Regions from separate parts of the Homo sapiens genome. Here region 1 is linked to region 2. The links are contacts of gene promoters, found by promoter capture Hi-C in blood cells and fetal thymus (Javierre and others, 2016). All regions are on one chromosome and are shown on one strand. The core of a region is centred on a gene start or on the middle of the fragment in contact, and the rest is flanking DNA. Distances in the headings are between cores, read along the strand shown.

Region 1 (2,700 bases), core at 17-2,516, 140 kb before region 2:
ATTAAGTAGCTGTGGACTTTTCAACAAAGGAAACCAAAAAAGGAGATTTTTTAACTGTAACCAATTTTATATATATATATGTATATATATATATATGTGTGTGTGTGTGTGTGTGTGTGTGTGTGTGTGTATATATATATATATTTTTTTTTTTTTTTTTTGAGAGGGAATCTTTGTTGCCCAGGCTGGAGTTCAGTGGTGCAATCTTAGCTCACTACAATCTCTGCCTCCCGGGTTCCAGCGATTCTCCTGCCTCAGCGTCCACAGTATCTGGGATTACAGGCACATGCCATCACACCCAGCTAATTTTTGTATTTTCAGTAGAGACGGGGTTTCACCATTTTGGTCAGGCTGGTCTCGAACTTCTGACCTCAAATGATCTGTCCGCTTTGGCCTCCCAAAGTGCTAGGATTACAGGCGTGAGCCACCATGCCTGTCCCCAACAAAATATCTTGCTTCCATATTCTCCCCATAAATATTTGCCTCTGATGCATTGTCATGGGAACACTCAACCTCTTTCCATCTGGTGTTCCCCGATTCAAGAATTGCCTGTTACTCAAGTATACTCTTAAAAAAGTTTTGTTGATCCTCAGACTTTACATTTTAACACCACCCTACCTCCTAGAGCGCCAGTTTTCTGATCTGTAAAATGGGTGTTGCGGATCTTTCACTCCCTAGGACTGTAGGGAATAGAAAGTCTCTGGTTGTCAATGTCAGTCAATGTCAATTCCTTCTGCCTCCCCCATTTCACTACTGGGAACTCCGAGGCCCAGAGAGGGGCATTAACTAATGTCAACTTTAATAACGGGATTCAAGCAATATGTTTAAGTAATTTATTTAAGCGTAAAAGAAAATATAGGAAGAGGCAAGTTGCCGTGGCTCAGGCCTGTAATCCCACCACTTTGGGAGGCTGAGGTGGGAGGATCACTTGAGCCCAGGAGGTTGAGGTTGCAGTGAGCCTGATCCGCCACTGCACTTCAGCCTGAGCGATAGAGTGAGACCCTGTCTCTGAAAAAAAAAAAAGAAAGAAAGAAAGAAAAGGAAGGAAATTAATCTATATCAAAAGGTCAGTCCTTAAGGGGTCTGCTCCATTTCTCGGTCTCCAAAGTCAGCCCTTCTCAGGGCCTAACAACTTTTAGAAGCCCCAAATAGACAGACTGTCCATTTCTTTCTGCACTTGGCCCAGTCTCACTGCAAGCCACGCCTGGCTCAGCCCCGTCCCGCCTTGAGCCTCGGTGTTCCCACCTAGGGGCGGGCAGCCAGGGGCACTTCCGCTGGCCCAAGTGATCTGCATGTGGCAGGGCTGCGCAGTGGAGCGGCCAGTGGGCAGGATGACGAGCCAGACCCCTCTGCCCCAGTCCCCCCGGCCCAGGCGGCCAACGGTAAGTGCGAGGCTAGCTGCGTCCCCGCGCCTCTGTCCTCCGCCTCTTCCCTCCGCCTCTTCCCTCCCTTCCAGTTTCTCCTGCCCGTCCCTCCCAGACGCCCGAGCCCCCTGCTTCTGGCGCGCTGTCCCCCTTCACCTCGGGCTGGTCGCTCTCTTCAATCTTTGCCGTCCCTCCTGCTGGGATCACTCTCCTTTCGCGCCTCGGTGTCCCTTTCTGGTTTGGCTCTGTCCAGCCTTTCCTCTTTGCCCTTTTGCTTCCTCCCTCTACATTGGGTCTTTAGTTCCTTTCCCTTGTCTCTTCCCCACCGGCTTGTCCTAGCCCACGACTCCTCCTCTGCCCCACCTTCTCCCTTGCTCCCGGTGGGAGAAGCCCATCCAACCAGCTCGGCCAGAGGATCTTTCCCTCACCTGCAGCCCTCTCCAGCCTGCCCCTGCCCCTTGGCTGGGTCTTCAGCCTGCCCCTGCCCTCTGGCTGGGTCCCAAATCCCTCTGCTTGCCTGCCTGGTCCCCAGCTTGGGTGAGGGGAGTTGGGGAGGAGGATGGGGAAAAGGCTGCGTGCACTCTGGGAGCAGAACATTCGGGTTCTCTCCTGCACTGAGAGTCATCCTGAAGACCTGGAGGAAGAGAAAGCAGATCCAGCAGCAGGGCAGCGTGGCTCTCTCTAATAGGGCCATGATCACGTCATTGTTGTTGGCTATTGACAAAGCCACATGCCTAGTGCCAGGACCACCCTAGGTGTTCCATAAATGCCTGAATGAATTACTGGGGAAGTGTAAGGCACTGTGCATGATGCCAGGTAGGGCAAGATTGGCCTTGAACAGAATACTAGATGCTCCTGTAAATCAGAGGATATTCCCCTCCCTTAGGAGCCTCACAGAGTTTTTGTTTGTTTGTTTGTTTGTTAAAATAGAGATGGGGTCTCGCCATGTTGGTGAGACCCAGGCTGGTCTCAAACTCTTAGGCTCAGGCAATCCTCCTACCTCAGCCTCCCAAAGTGCTGGGATTACAGGCATGAAACACAGCACTTGGCCAGGAACCTCACAGTCAATGAAGAAACAGGGAATTGCAAGGGAAGAACTGCCAGGCCAGTGGAAGTATAGTAGTGTAGGACTTTCTGGGATCACAGTGAGACAACCCACCCCGAAGGACTCCCAGAGGAATTCATCTGAAGGATGAGTGGGGTCAGAGAAAGGAGTGCGGATGGCCAAGTGAGTGAGCTTCTGGAGGTGAGGGGGCTTGCCCAGCTCTGGATTGGAGGAGTGGGGAGCAGCAGGCAGTTCTGGTAGTTGATTGCGAGGGGTGAAGTAGCAGCCTAG
Region 2 (2,700 bases), core at 159-2,658:
GATGGATTACATTTATTGATTTTCGTATGTTGAACCAGCCTTGCATCCCAGGGATGAAGCCCACTTGATCATGGTGGATAAGCTTTCTGATGTGCTGCTGGATTTGGTTTGCCAGTATTTTATTGAGGATTTTTGGTGGTGGATTCATTAATTTTTTGAAGGGTTTTTTGTGTCTCTATTTCCTTCAGTTCTGCTCTGATTTTAGTTATTTCTTGCCTTCTGCTAGCTTTTGAATGTGTTTGCTCTTGCTTTTCTAGTTCTTTTAATTGTGATGTTAGGGTGTCAATTTTGGATCTTTCCTGCTTTCTCTTGTGGGCATTTAGTGCTATAAATTTCCCTCTACACACTGCTTTGAATGTGTCCCAGAGATTCTGGTATGTTGTGTCTTTGTTCTCGTTGGTTTCAAAGAATATCTTTATGTCTGCCTTCATTTCGTTATGTACCCAGTAGTCATTCAGGAGCAGGTTGTTCAGTTTCCATGTAGTTGAGCGGTTTTGAGTGAGTTTCTTAGCAAGGCCTGCGGACCCTGCCCCGCCCCCTCGCCGGGCGCCTCCCACCTATTCTACACCTCTCGTGTCTCTTCACCCTGCCAGACTAGAGTCAAGCTCAACAGGGTCTTCTTTCCCTGCTGATTCCGCCAAGCCCATTCCCTTGGCTGTGGTTTCGCTGGATAGTAGGTAGGGACAGTGGGAATCTCGTTCATCCATTCATGTGCGTCACTAATTAGATGACAAGGCATTTGGCTACCTTAAGAGAGTCATAGTTACTCCCGCCGTTTACCCGTGCTTCATTGAATTTCTTCACTTTGACATTCAGAGCACTGGGCAGAAATCACATGGCATCAACACCCGCCGCGGGCCTTCGCGATTATTAACTCTTGTAAGCCTAATCTAGGTTACTGTATTCTACCTGATGATCATTCATACTGGCCATTTCCTTCCTCTGACCTACTTGGGCCACAGGTTTCTAAGCTCCACTTTTGGAGTAGACAAATGAAAGAAGGCTTCCAGCAACCATTTCACAGAGGAGTGAAGGCCTTTCACCAAGGACAGTTTTGCTGAGAATGCTGGGAATTTTTTTTTTCTTTTTTTTGAGACAAGGTCTCTGTCTGTTGCCTGGGCTGGAGTGCAGTGGCATGGTCAGCTCACTGTGACCTCAAACTTCTGTGTCCAAGGGATCCTCCTGCCTCAGCCTCCTGAGTAGCTGGAACTAGAGATACACACCACTACACCTGGCTAATTTTAATTTTTTTTGTGTGGAGATTGGGGGGTCTTACTTTTTTGCCCAGTCTCGTCTTAAACTCCTGTCTTCAAGCAATCCTCCCGCCTCAGCCCCGCAAAATGCTGGGATTATAGGCATGAGCCACTGCACCTGCTGAACACAGAAATTATGGCCCCTGTTCATTTGTTTTTCCCATGATCATTGCTGTTTCAGCCCCCCTCTGCCCTTCTTTTTCTTTCTTTCTTTCTTTTTTTTGAGACAGAATCTCACTCTGTCACCCAGGCTGGAGTGCAGTGGCAGCGATCTCAGCTCACTGCAACCTCTGCCTCCCAGGTTCAAGTGATTCTCCTGCTTCAGCCTCCCAAGTAGCTGGGACTACAGGCACACGCCACCATACCCAGCTAATTTTTGTATTTTTAGTAGAGAAGGGGTTTCATCATGTTGACCAGACTGGTCTTGAACTCCTGACCTCAAGTAATCCACCTGGCTCAGCCTCCCAAAGTGCTGGGATTACAGGTGTGAGCCACTGTGCCCGGCCCTCCCCTTCATTTTCTAAAAAAAAATGAAGCCCAAGCACTTGTCTTTAAAGATAATAAGGATCAGGAAACTGAGACACCTGCATTTTTTTCCTATAGTAGGTTTGGGAGCTTGGAGCCTAGAACTAGAGTGGGGAGTAGCAGCTTTAAGAAATAAGGGTAGGCCAGGTGTGGTGGCTCACGCCTGTAATCCCAACACTTTGGGAGGCTGAAGTAGGAAGATCACCTGAGGTCAGGAGTTCGAGACCAACCTGGCCAACATGGTGAAACCCCATCTCTACTAAAGATACAAAATTAGCCGGGCATGACGGTGGGCGCCTGTAATCCCAGCTACTTGGGAGGCTGAGGCAGGAGAATCACTTTAACCCGGGAGGCGGAGGTTGCAGTGAGCCGAGATCATGCCACTGCAGTTCAGCTTGTGTGACAGAGTGAGACTATCTCAAGAAAAGAAAAAAGAAAAAGAAAAAGAAATAAGGGTAGGCTGGGCACAATTGCTCATGCCAGTAATTCCAACACTATGGGAGTCTGAGGCAGGAGGATCACTTGAGGTCAAGAGTTGGAGACTAGCCTGGGCAACATAGCAAGATCTTGTCTCTACAAAAAAATTTAAAAAGAAAATTACCTGGCGTGGTGGCACGTGCCTGTAATCCCCACTCCTCAGGAGGCTGAGGCAGGAAGATCACTTGCGCCCAGGAGTTTGAGGCTTCAGTGAGTTATGATCGTGCCACTGCACTCCAGCCTGGGTGGCAGAGTAAGACCCTGTTTTAAAGAAAAAAAAAGAAAGAAAGAAGTGTAGAATCAGGGGGAGGCCCCATGACCTGAGGAGAGATGAAGGATTATAGGGCAAGTGGGTGAGACATGCCTTCCGCAGTTTCAACATTGACCACAGTTTCAACATTGGAAGACCTGTGTGGTTCCCTACTCTGCCTTCATAAGTATATTT

What was found. The method cuts DNA at HindIII sites, captures the fragments that hold promoters and counts their contacts. A CHiCAGO score of 5 or more calls a contact.
Region 1: a contact is called between the fragment with the promoter of KCTD14 here and a fragment that was not itself captured in region 2, in 7 of 17 cell types (total B cells, fetal thymus, naive CD8 T cells and 4 more). The highest score is 9.0, in total B cells.

Annotation. Positions count from the first base shown.
Region 1 is chr11:78,021,842-78,024,541 of GRCh38, reverse strand. It overlaps KCTD14 (potassium channel tetramerization domain containing 14), which reads left to right and starts at 1,266. Exons shown (of 2, transcript NM_023930.4): 1 at 1,266-1,382. The coding sequence starts at 1,293. All of the region lies in intron 2 of NDUFC2-KCTD14 (NDUFC2-KCTD14 readthrough), which reads left to right. LOC124902723 (a long non-coding RNA gene) reads right to left here and starts at 1,999. Exons shown (of 2, transcript XR_007062795.1): 1 at 1,521-1,999; 2 at 820-1,008. RefSeq lists enhancers at 772-1,339, 1,340-1,909, 1,910-2,477. The HindIII fragment of the contact is 5,224 bases long and covers 1-2,700 here.
Region 2 is chr11:77,884,596-77,887,295 of GRCh38, reverse strand. All of the region lies in intron 21 of INTS4 (integrator complex subunit 4), which reads left to right. It also overlaps a transcript of AAMDC not described here. Among named protein-coding and RNA genes, the nearest start is that of AAMDC, 65 kb to the right of the region's middle. The HindIII fragment of the contact is 2,648 bases long and covers 85-2,700 here.